2 separate regions of the Homo sapiens genome follow, and region 1 is linked to region 2. Evidence: promoter capture Hi-C in human tissues and cell types (Jung and others, 2019). All regions are on one chromosome and are shown on one strand. The core of a region is centred on a gene start or on the middle of the fragment in contact, and the rest is flanking DNA. Distances in the headings are between cores, read along the strand shown. Region 1 overlaps ASTN1 (astrotactin 1). Region 2 holds the start of BRINP2 (BMP/retinoic acid inducible neural specific 2).

Region 1 (6,265 bases), core at 2,956-5,455, 260 kb before region 2:
CATCAATGCGTACATCACAGAGTGTCTTCACACAAACCTAGATGGTATAGCCTGCCACACACCTAGGTATATGGTGTAGCACAGGGGTCCCCAACCCCCAGGCCATGACTGGTACCAGTCCATGGACTGTTAGGAACCGAGCTGCACAGCAGGAAGTGAGCGGTGGGTGAGAGAGCATGAACACCTGAGCTCCACCTCCTGTCACATCAGCGGTGGCATTAGATTCTCATAGAAATGCAACTCTATTGTGAACTGCACATGCAAGGGATCTAGTTGTGTGCTTCTTATGGGAATCTAATGATAAATGTAATGCTCTTGAATCATCCCCAAACCATCCCCTCTGACCTGTCCATGGAAAAATTGTCTTCTATAAAACCCGTCCCTGGTGCCAAAAAGGTGGGGGATCACTGGTGTAGCATATTGTTCCTAGGCTATAAACCTGTACAACATGCTACTGTACTGAATTCTGTAGGCAATTGTAACACATGTAAGTATTTGTATGTCTAAACATAGAAAAGGTACTGTAATAACATGGTATAAAAAGATAAAAAATGGTCCACCTGTAAAGGGCACTTACCGTGATTGGAGCTTCCAGGACTGGAAGCTGCCCTGGGTGAGTCAGTGGGTGAGTGGTGAGTGAATGTGAAGGCCTAGGGCATTACAGTACACTCCTGCAGACTTTAGAAACACTGGACACTTAGGCTACACTAAATTTACTTTTGTTTTTCTTTCTGCAATAATAAATTAACTTTAGCTTACTATAAGTTTTTTACTTCATAAACTTTTTAATATTTTAAATGTGTTCACTCTTTTGTAATAACACTGAGCTTAAAACACAAATTGCACAGCCATATGAAAATATTTTTTCTTTATACACTATTGTATATGCTTTTCTCTATTTTTTAAATTTTTATTTTTTTATTTTTTTTACTTTGTAAACTTTTTTGTTAAAAACGAAGACACAAACACATACATTAGCATTGTTTTCCACCTCCATATCTTGTCCCACTGGCAGGTCTCTAGGGGCAGTAAGATGCTTGGAGCTGTCATCTCCTGAAATAACAATGCCATCTTCTGAACTACCTCCTGGAAGACCTGCCTGAAGCTGTCTTACAGTTAACCTTTAAAAAATGAGTACACTCTAAAATAATGATAAAAAGCATAGTATCAGAAATATGTAAACCAGTAACTGCCATTTATTATCAGGTATTACGTACTGTACATAATTGTGTGTGTTAGACTTTTATACGACTGGCAGCGCAGTAGTTTTGTTTACACCAACATTACCACAGACATGAGAGTGACGCATGATGCTGTAACATTACAATGGCTACATCACTCAGTGGCAGAAATTTTTCAGCTACATTACGATCTTATGGGACCACTGTCATATACGTGGGCTTGCATTGACCAAAATGTTGTTATGTGACAAATGATGGTGCTCTTTAATAAAATATCAAATAAGGACCAGATTATATCAGGAGACGTATGCAAGGGAAGAATCATTGAGAAGGAAGCTTTTGGGATAGGCTCAAGGATACAGGCATCTTTAATAACAAGAGCTACCATCTATGGTGGAAGTCAGCAAACTTTTTCTGTAAAGAATCAGATAGGAAATATTTTTGGCCATGCAGTCTCTGTTGCAACTACTCAACTGTGCCTTTGTAGTGCAAACACAGCTATGGGTATTATGTAAACAAATGCACATGGCTCTGCTTCAATAAAACATTATTTATGGATGGTAAAATTTATTTATGATGTTCATGGCACATAATATTGTTTTTCTTTCTTAGTTTTATCTTTCAATCATTTAAAAAGGTAGAACCCATTCTTAGCTTGAGGGCCATATAAAAACAGGTAGCAGACCAGATTTGCCTGCAGGTCATAATTTGCTGACCCCTGACTGTTCATTAAAAATAAATGCTTTAGTATACCCATTCTCATTGAATTCTTAGACCTGCTCTTTGAGGCAGGTATACTCATTTCCATTTTCTAGATATCCAAGATGAAGTTTAGAGAACTTAGGTCATACAGATTTCAAAGGCCTTTCTTTTAACCACTAAGCTATACTACCTCCCATAATGGTAAGGAACACAGGGGGATGGTGGAATGAGTAGGTTTTCTTTAGCCAAAGGAATTTAAAAATCTAAAAGTAGTTTTAACAAAGAATATGAGGCTTGCTATCATGGCTTTCTCATAGCAAGCTCATTTTAGATCTCTGCGATTACTACATTCTCTGTTTTCACAAGTCAAGCACAGGAAAGATATAATGTTAATAAGCTCTACTTTTCAGAATATAATATTCCCCCATATTTGAAGAAAAAAGAACAGCCTTCTAGCATTTGTTCCAACTTCTCTCCACCATCCATGATCCCACGGAAGGTCGTGCCCACCCCTGCAGGTAACAGGTATGCTTGAAGATCTTGCTCTCCCCTGCTGGAAGATCAAATTCTATCAAAGTTGCCCATTTCTCTCTTTCCTTCTCTCACTGATTTAAGCAACAATTCTCTCTTACTTGGCTTCCTTGCTTTCTTCTTGTTTAAAGGTAATTTTATGTGTCAGAGAGAATGGAAGGAAGACAGGGGTTGCCATGTTCTCTCCATTACCTATTAAGATTACAGGAGGTGGTGATTTCAATTCTTCTTTGGTCCTCTTCTTTCTCTAAACACAGCTAAAATGTCCTTTATACTGTCTGTGGGTTTTTTCACAAATGTAGGATCACATTGGGTTGTTGGCTTTCTGATGCTATTGATAGGTTCATCAGTCAGTGCACGTCCATGAATGCATGTGCCCAGCATTGGGCTAGGTACTGTGGGAGCTGTAAAGGTAGGATTTACAATCTATGTGGGATACAAGACTAACAAACATGTGATAATAGTAATAATAACAGCTGCTCACTATTAAAACATTTTCTATGCCCTGGCACTCTGCTAAACACTTTGCATGTATTCTGTCAAATAAAAAACAAACTTGGATTTAGAAGAATTTTATTCTAAGCGATTATTGCTGGGGCAGGGTAGGGAAGCCATTGAATTTGGAAGAATGCTCTGATAAAGTCTGCAAGCATCTCTAGAGTTGAACAAAAAGAGTTTTTAACTTTTATAGACAGAAGTGAACAAGGCTACAAAGAATCTGGTGTGGAGAAGCATCATGATTGGAAAGTAGATAAGAGAATGTTTTACCTGAAACCAGCCTACATTCAGTAGTCACTATACACAGCTCAGGCTAAGGGTGAGCCGAAGCTCAAGGGCTTGGGGGAAGAAGAAAAGTTTAACCAACATTTGGTTCACAAGCATTTTGTTGTGATTGATTAGAAGAGACAAACAATTTAGCTAATGACTTATAAGGCAAACAACGGGAATTTGAAGAGTGTATCTGGCTATATTTTAGGTAAACAAGGGGGGCATCATGAGTCTTATCTAAGTCTCATGGGGAAGGGTGAAATTCAACATTGTCAGTTCTCTATATGAATCTCAGTGGTTGGTGCTAAAATAGTTCCTATTTCAGAGATGACAAAACCGGGCAACAGAGAGGTTTATTACTTTGTCCAAGGTCACAGAATTATCAGTAGAAAAGTTGGAGCTTATATTCAGATCTGTCTGACTCCAGGGTAGTCAATCAGTCCTAAATTCTATGGTAGAGACTATAAGTGTCACAGGACTTTGGAGGAGAGAGGACATGAGTGAGGCCCAGGGGAGTCGCCAAAGGCCTCATGGAGGAATATGTTCTGAAGAATGGGCAGGCTTCGCTGACTAGGTAGTTAGAAACAGTGTAAATTATTCAGGGCAGAGACAATAAGGTCAAAGAAACAGAGGTGAAGGTGGCCACAGAGGTCATTACAAAGCTTAACTCTGTGTTATGGAGGTTTTAACTGGATAAAGAATAAGCATTAATTTACATAAATAGGCTAGGGTCATACCGCATGGGGTCCTGAAGAACCAGTCCAGGAATTTTGAGCCTGAAGCAAGTTAGGAAGCAAGCAGTGCCTTGCCTTGGTCAGAAGCTACACAGGAATGGCACTAAACCGAGTTAAACTGAGTCAGGCAGTGAAATGACTTACAACAAATGAAAATTTGAATGAATCGTAGACCGGAGGGAAAAATAGCCAAAAGGCTGTAACAACAATGCGACCTTGGAGGTCTGGGAGTCAGACTGGGGTAGCAACCGTGTACAGAGAATGAGGGACAATCCAGGGGGTATTTTAGAAGAAATGAAAGGATTTGGTGCCAGATATGGATAGAGGAGGTTAAAGAGAAAACTTTCCTCTTATTAGAAGATGCATAATAATAAAAACTCAGAATCTTTCTAAGTAGGTTTGTAGAACTTTTGTCTTTTAGGGTCCTTTAGTATCATTACTCAAAATCACAAATAGACAAAAAAATTTTCATGCTCTGATGTAATGGGAAAATCTAAGTTAAAATTAGCAGGTTTCCTGTCAACCGTTGAAAACCATTAAAATTCTAATATTTATTACAAGTACCCAAGGAAAAAATATAGCATACAGTGTTGGTCAAAAATAATTTGAACATAAAAATCACTTCTTGCAGATCATTTCATTGAATTAGCGTGCTACCGAGCCCACTTTGGGAAATACCCTAATAGTTACATTACTGAGGACCTACCATGGGCCAGGTGTTCTACCCGCCTTATGACTCTTAGTCCTTACAATATTCTCATTAACTTGTTTTGCAGATGAAGAAACTAAGGCTTGGAGGCTTTAAGTCATCTGTTTGATGATCAGGCAAGCACTGAGTATCTAACTACCAAACCCTCCTCCCCTCCTTGCATCAAGCCTCCTTCCACATTACAGATGTACAAGATCTTCAAAAGCAGACTTTCCCAGCAACCTCCAGAACACTTGATTATTGGATTTTTCACAGTTGTTTTCAACAGTTTCTGAAATCCTTTCCTGGATGCAGGATATCATGCATCCTGGGCCTGCTGACACCAGCTTCCAATCTATTGGCATTCACCTGCTGTCGTACACAGCTTCCGGTGGTATCATTCGGATTTTAGATTACTCCTCTCCCTTTGTTCCCCAGAACCCAACATCTATAAACATGAAAACACAGGCAGGAAAGGGTACAATGAGCAATCTCCAGCTTCTTAATGCAGGCGGTGTGATGCGGGGAGGAGAGGGAGGGCACGATAAGGTCCCGATGTCTCACATGTCCCTGGAATTGACATGCACCAGGCTAGTGCTTGCAGTCACTACCATCATAGACCGTTTAGTGTTAAATTTAGAATTAAAACCAATTAAAAGATAACAAGAAAACATATGCTTGGAATGGCAAGAATCAAACATGACTGCTAGCTACTGCAGGGAGGTATTAGAATGTTTTACAAACCCGAAACTTGCCCATTCTCAGTCTTTCACCCATGTCCCTGGTTTATCTCCACCCAAATGGCTTTCAATGGAAAAATCACTGGGATCTTTACTACAGTGAATCTGAAAACTGGAGTTAGAAAAGACTCACCATTGACCCTTTCTCTTGTGCTAGGTCAGATGACTGAGTCCATCTGGATTCAAGGTTGTGTTCGAATAACGGCTGGGGCTAGGATTGAGGTGCTTCTCCTTGGGGTCATGGTCAAACACAGGTTATTTGTGAGATAAGGATGCAGATGAGTATGTAGGTTCCCCATTCCTCCCTTATATCTCAGGAAGGTAGGTGTGCCTGCAGCTCCAGAGTTGGGGGTAGACACCCCAGAAAGGTGAGTGCTGCCTTTGGCATCCCCAGACATGTCAGCATCCAGAAACAAATTGTACTGTCAAAAAAGGCAGTAATTCTGCTGCTCAGTAATCCAAGTCAGCCAGTTTAATGTCTGGGTGAAAGATCTCTACATTCTTACTTTGCCATCATTGAGGGGGGTCCCCGCAGAGCCCACAGGTTTTCCATGTATGTCTCCCTAGGAGATTTCCACGAGTGTGCACTGCTATGGCTCAACACACCCTCACCCTCCACATCCAAAGAGTCACCTATTGGCAGTATTTCCTAAATTAACGTCATATCAACTTTCCACTAGACATTTCTTCCCTCTTCATCCAGACCCTCAGCAGCTCCCACCTGGTTTACTCCAAAATTTTCCTGACTGGTACACTTCCCTCTCATTTTCACATCTCCCAAGCATCCTCCACGCTGTCATTACATGTATGTTTCTAAAGCACAATCAGAAGATGTCTTTTCCTGCTGAAATCCTTTAGTAGCTCTCAAGGGACTTGAAGGTAAAATCAGGCAAGAGGGCATGGCAGGCTGGCCCTTTGAAC
Region 2 (6,557 bases), core at 2,746-5,245:
ATGTTAGAAAGCCCAAGTAAACCATTTAGGGTTGATTTTCCAATAAGTCAATATCTAGTCTTCTTAAAATGTATATTGAGTTGGGCATAGTTGGTAGTTGGTATCTCAAGTCTTTCTAGACCTCTCTAAACAAAACCAAACAAAAGAAACAGTAGAATTTTTTAAAAGAGAATATATTATTCCAGAGTACTTGATTCCTGTAAAAATGGAAATAATGTCACATGGCCCTTTCTTAGGGAATTAAATACCTAGAGATGTGGGTAAAGGTTGAAGTACATGGAAACCAGGCCATCTCTAATGCATGATGTTTTACATTTAGAGGAGATGGGGGAAAATGTTATGCATCTCAATCATCACCTTTGTGTAGAGGCATAATGATATAGTGAAATAATAGAACTGGATTCAAGACTTAACTTCATAATATTCTTATTTGGAGATAAGCTTGGACCATTCTTGTCTTTAGTTCCCCATCAACAAAAGGGGCCAATCATCTCCGCTCACCCCTGCTGGTCACAGAAAATGTTTCTGACTTTCATCACCAAAGAGTAATGTTACTTGCTCTTGAATTTTATAAATATAGAATCTTAGAGTATATGCTTTTTTGTGTCTTAATATTTTCACTCATCATTATGTCTGTGAGATTTATCCATGTAGTTCAATATTGTATTGCTGTGTACTAGTCCATTACATGACTACATGGCATTTATTCATTCTCAGAAAATTTCTATTCTTTAAAACACTGTAAAACAGCAAGCGCTGTTATCTCCAATCTTCACTTTTCTCCTGAGATACACCTTCCTGTATTTAAGCACCAATGGCCTCTTTCCTTGACTATTAAAATAGATTTTGATTCCTTTTCCTCCTAGCAACGCATTCTGTACACAACTACCAGGTTGATCTTCATGAAATCTAACTTTCATTATGTCATTCTAGTTTTTCTTTTTCTACATGATAAAGCTGAAAACCCATGGTTTAGAAATTTTAAAACTCTTCTAATCTCACACTGTTTTTTAGATAGTTTGCTCACTGCACTATATCTCTATCCTCCCACCACACATGTGCACACAGACACACACATCTCTCAATCAAATTAAAATCTATTTCCTATTTTCACTCCTCCCATAACATTCTGTCCACCTGAAGTGCAACACTCTTTATTCTTCAGATTGTCCCATCTCTCCAAGCTAATCTGCAGCTGCACCTATGCAGTGAGAACTTCCATCACTTCCCTTCTTTTAGCTCCATTCCCTGGGCATTTATTTACATCTCCCCCAACATCTACACATATACATACACATACACTCAGGAAAGCAAGAGCTATTTCCTAATACAAAGTCTTAAATTCAATATTCTTATTTGCAAAACAGGAATAATACATAGTTTTGGGGGTGGTTGTGAGGAGGAAATGAGATTATGTATGTAAACAATGTGACACATTTTAGGCATTTAGTTGGCACTCAGTAGCGATAGCCTTTGCCACTATCACCTTATTCAATTATTTTGGCAAGATAATAGGCTTCAGAGTCATCTTCATGAGATTTTCTCCAGTGTAGTAGTCAAAGCAAATTAAGTAATGTATAGTCCTTGGTGTTTTCCCAGAGGAAATGATTGCATACATCCACCAAAAGACAAGCACAAAAACATTTATAACAAGTTTACTTATAATAGCCAAAAAACCCCAGAAACATCCCAAATATCTATCAAGAACAGAATGAATAAATGCCATGTAGTCATGTAATAGAGTGGTGCACCGCAATAAAACATACAACTACATGGATAAATCTCAGAGACAAAATGATGAGTGAAAGGATCAAGACACAAAAGAGTGTATACTCTAAGATCCTATATTTACAAAGTTCAAGAGCAAGTAACATTAATCTTTGGTGATGGAAGTCAGAATATAATTATCTCTGGGGAGTGGAGGGTTTTGACTGAGAACGTTCACGAACATGCTTCCTGCAGTGCTGGAAATAAAGTGAGTAATGGTTACATTGATGCATATATAGGCAAGAATTAAACTATACACTTGTGGCAATTCTTAATGTATATTCTGCCTCTTTAAAATTTTTTACACGGCTTCAGACTTTATAGGAGAAGAAAGTACAAGCAAGTTTTCTTTTTCAAGTTGTCTTCTTATCTGCCATCACCTCTTTCCTCTCTCTTTTACAGATTTTGGAAATTTTAACTTTCTTTCCATTGAAATTAGCAATCCTTTGTTCAACCTCTCCCTCTATTTACCCACTCCCTTATGCTATTTTAACATTTCAGTATGTTGTCACTTGGGACAAGTTCAGTGGGTCTCTGCCTCTAGAAATCACAAAAGTAAATAACTCAGCAGTTGGGTAGCAATAGATTTAGGCTCTCAGTGGTTCTCTTGGTTATTTTATTCTAGAAAGAGAGCTCAGGACCCTGTGGGACCACCATTCTCTGACATGTTTTGTAGCTTAGGCAAACAGATACTTGCAGTATGCAGAAGGAAGTTCAACGTTGTATAAGATACAGAGAAGAAAATATAGGTGAAAGTGATAGATGTGTGAGTCTGAGGGGATGAATGAAGAAAATTTCTAATTTTTCTTTATTCATTCAGAACTTACGGCTACTTGATGCAGTTTAGCTAATCTCCATGTGTACTTCTTACACATTCATTAAATCTCTACATACTTTTTTTTTCTAGTTCTTTACAAAATAATCTCCGATGTTGCTCTCCATTTAAGGAAACTAAATTGAAAGACTCCTCTCGCTTTCTGACTATATATTTATCTTCTTCATACTTCCCCCACCACATGACTTAGCATGGATCTCCCAAGTTCCTTCCCCAGCTCCAGCCCCCAGCTCTTCCCTTGAATTGGATTTTTCTTCAACTATTACTCTTTTTCCTATGCTCCTGCCAAAATCTAGTTTAGTATGCTAGTTAGCGGGACATGTTTCAGTTTTGTACCCTCATTAGGATATCAAAAATATATACTTCACACTTCAATGTAAAGTTAATATTTTCTTCCCTTCTCCTTTCCTCCCTTTTCCCTCCACCTCCCTCCCTTTTTTCCTCCCTCCCTCTCTTTCAATTCACAGGCCCAGCAACAGCACCTGCTTCACAGAAACAAGGCTGGTCCTGTTCTGATTTCTCTAGTCTTCCTTTAAAAACTAAACGGAGATGCACAGTCCCTCTTCCTGACACACACAGAAGTGAAAGGAGACACACAGAGGGAAAACACCACAGGCAAAACAATTCCCTTTTTTGGAGGGACATTTTTGAAACTTAATCTCTCCCCAGAAACCTGAAGTTCTCCTCTTTGCCTTTGTCCTTACAGTCCTGGTGTGGGGGCAGAATGTTTCCTGATTTAGCTGTCCTGGCCTCTAAATCTGTTTCACTCTCTAGCCATCTTACTGGGTTCTTGCTCTCTTTTGCCTCTCTCTCCTCTTGGGTCTCTGGGGTGTGTGTGTGTGTGTGTGTGTGTGTGTGTGTGTGTACTATTTCTCACTTGGGGGCTCATTTCTAATTAAGTAATCCAAGAGGCTAAAAAATGCACAAAACAACCAAATGAAACCTCAAATTAGATGGAAAATGGCTCAGATGGGTCCCAATCTCTGGGAGTTCTAGTTAAGCAAGCAAACAAAATGGGCTGGGATAAATGATTATTGTAACTCAGGAAGATTAGAAGAAAATGTAATTAGCTCCCCAGCTACTTCTTGTTCCCCAGCCTTTTTAAGAGTGTCCAACGCCCCACCCGTGAATGTACCCAAGGCTTCCTTATACACACCAAAAAGTCCCCACTGCAACGCTGGGAGGGTTAACAGAGCTGGTACCCCAGCCTGCCAGCTCACCAAAGGAGAGAGCGGTGAGGCTCAGAGCCCGCCCCCTGCCAAGCCGCCCAGCCAATGGGCACCTGTGGGGAGTGTGGCGCTGTGTCCCATTGGCTGCCAACCTACATGCATAAGAAAGAAAGAGAGAGGCAGGCAGGGCAGCATTGTTATCTTAAGACACTCATCTGGTGTCTGAGTCTGCAGGTGACACTGCTTAGGTACGGAGCGCGGAGTCGGAGCGGGGACGCGCCGGGCTGCAGCTCTGGGATGCAATCCGCCTGCCTCGCAAGCTGCTCGCCGCTGCGCTGGCAGCGCTTACGCTGAGCTCGGAGGATCCCATTAGGACTTGCCCGGGGATGTGCACCTGCCGTGCGCTCCGAGGTCAGTGGCAGGTCTGCAGGCAGCCGAGGGAGCGGTGAAGCCGGAAGACCTGTCTCTGCCCATGTGCAAGGCAGTGATTTCGGGTGAGAGAGCGGGTGGGTGAGTCTCTTTAGAGTTGGAAAGAAGGCAAAATCTTGGGTTTCTCCTCGGCGGAGGGACAGGGGACTCCCCCAGTTGGGTCTTGCACTTCCCTTACCTCTCCCACCCCGCGTGCGCCCCGGCCCAGTGCCGAAGCCCCACTTCAAAGATGCTCTGGGAGACCGGGATCCTGGCTGCTCAGCGGGAAGGCAGCAGGCAAGTGGTCTAACGTTGGCGGCGGTGGCGGTGGCGGCGGCGGCGGCACCGACAGTAAAGCGGGGAGCAAGAGAATTTGAAAAGAGACATCCGCTCCCTCTCACACGCTGAGGGGGAGGCATTCGCGTTTCCCCAAATGAGAAAGAACCACAAGAAATCATGAAGTAAAAACTTTGGAAAGCTGCCACTGGAGATGTTGCACAAAAACCTGGAATCTTTTAGGAGTCTCCTCCCAGTCGTTGAAGGTTTGGGGAGCAGCTGATACAGCAAGGAGGGCTCTTGCAAGGATTCAAGGTAACAGTGCAGGGTTTCGGTGATTTTTCTCCCCTTTTCATTGTCCTTTTTGGTGTGTCCGTTGGTAAAGGGACCATTTTGCTCTCATACAACCCTCTTGCCCTGGTGCCTGGCAGTGGCAGGCAGAGGGAATGATGCCACCTCTCCTAGTTTCTGTCTTGTGGAGTTGAGCAATGGACTTTGGGGTTGAGCTAGAGATTGCTCTGGTATTGCCTCCTGGTGTTGCATGGCTGTCAGAGGGTTTGGGCTCCCTGCCTGACCTATATTGCTTTTGCCTGGTTTAAGTCCTCAAAGTTAGTGCAACTCCTATTAGCTTCAGAAAATTCAATAGGGCTGCATAATTGCAGAAGATGACGAGGACTTTTGCCTGCCCAGCTGACGCTGGGAGGTTCATTATGTTTGGGAAGGAGCCCAAAGAGCTGAGGTTACAATGCACGATATCTATATTATCGTGCTCATAGAGCCCTATGGCATGTTTCCCATGCACATGCAGTCAGGAAAATAAAATTCCAAACAGTGAACCCTGTAGGTTGCAAATAGTCTCCCCAGGGTGGTGGCAGAAGCCCCATTGATTGACTTGAGCCTGGCAGAGCACTGGAGACACTAGGGAAGAACATTGCTGTGCTGAAAGGTGGGATGTGCTGGTATCATCTAGCAGATCTCTGTCTCTGTTTTTGTGATCATCTGGGTACACTGTCGAATGCTGCCTGTGGTGTGTGTATGTATGTGTGCTTGTGCTCACAGCTGTATGCAGGAAACAGGCTGCCCACAGAAGAACCAAGCATGTCCAGCACCCTGTCCAAATCACGGATGCCTGGAGTGTTCCTGCCTAGTAGGAACACGAACTTGTGAGCTGTTGTTCCAGCCCAGAGGACTCTTCTCCTCACCAAGCAGTCCCTCTGCATGGTACATATTTATCCAGGGTATATAGACCTAAGCCAAATGTTAACCAATGTTCAAGCTAATGCACTGTAATGTGATTGAACAGACCCCTCTGTAAAGAATTGTGTGTGTGCTCTTTGCAGCCCTAGGAGCAGGGTGCTATGAGCAGAAACAAATGTTTTGTTAAAAGGATAACAATTATAAAAGGTCAAGCTTATAGTTGGGTAATCTAGGCCTTATTCAGCAGGGACATTGTTATGTCAGCATAGACCAATCAGAGGGATAAAAGGTATATTATAAGTCAAGTATTTCTGCTTCTGTCCTTCTCCAGACATGTGCATGTTGAAGTGACTCTCTCTGACCATGCTCGCTAAAATACATGCAATGCCAGTATTAACCAAGCAACTAAAGTATACCAAATCCCCCGGGGGGCAGTCTGATGACATCAGGCAACAGCAAAGTGATGCTGGAGTTTGTGTGCTTTCCCTCCTGACTCACACAGTTGTGTGTATGTTATTTGTTTAAGGCATGACCCTCTGGAGTCCCCCTTCACCCAGAATAAGTTGCTTTGCAGCACTGAGGGCATGACCGAGACATGCTGCCACAATGATCCTGTCTTATCAATATCAGAGCTGCTGCCTACTCTAGGAAAAGATGCATGCCTTGCTTCTTTGAGGAGGATATAATTTGAAAAGGCACAGAGCATGTATATTGTGAAATATTTGAGATAAAGGAAGCAAATGTCACACCATAGTCTCCCCTTCTGGAGGTCAGCTGGCGCCAAAGTGTTTGACAGCTGGGCTGCAGCCATGGAGAAGACAGGAGCATTCTTGACTCTTACTTCCCCTCTTCACCAAAAATGGAGCTGGCTTTGTCTCCCAGAATGGAGTGATGTGTGCTGCAGT

What was found. The method cuts DNA at HindIII sites, captures the fragments that hold promoters and counts their contacts. A contact is called where the count stands out against the background at its distance.
Region 1: a fragment that was not itself captured here is called in contact with the fragment with the promoter of BRINP2 in region 2 in 1 of the 25 tissues and cell types used here (dorsolateral prefrontal cortex).

What each region holds. Positions count from the first base shown.
Region 1 is chr1:176,910,624-176,916,888 of GRCh38, forward strand. The region is part of intron 16 of ASTN1 (astrotactin 1); the gene reads right to left. Among named protein-coding and RNA genes, the nearest start is that of MIR488, 120 kb to the right of the region's middle. The HindIII fragment of the contact is 7,253 bases long and covers 580-6,265 here.
Region 2 is chr1:177,166,963-177,173,519 of GRCh38, forward strand. It overlaps BRINP2 (BMP/retinoic acid inducible neural specific 2), which reads left to right and starts at 3,996. Exons shown (of 8, transcript NM_021165.4): 1 at 3,996-4,770. RefSeq lists enhancers at 3,634-4,223, 4,224-4,812. The HindIII fragment of the contact is 8,375 bases long and covers 1-6,557 here.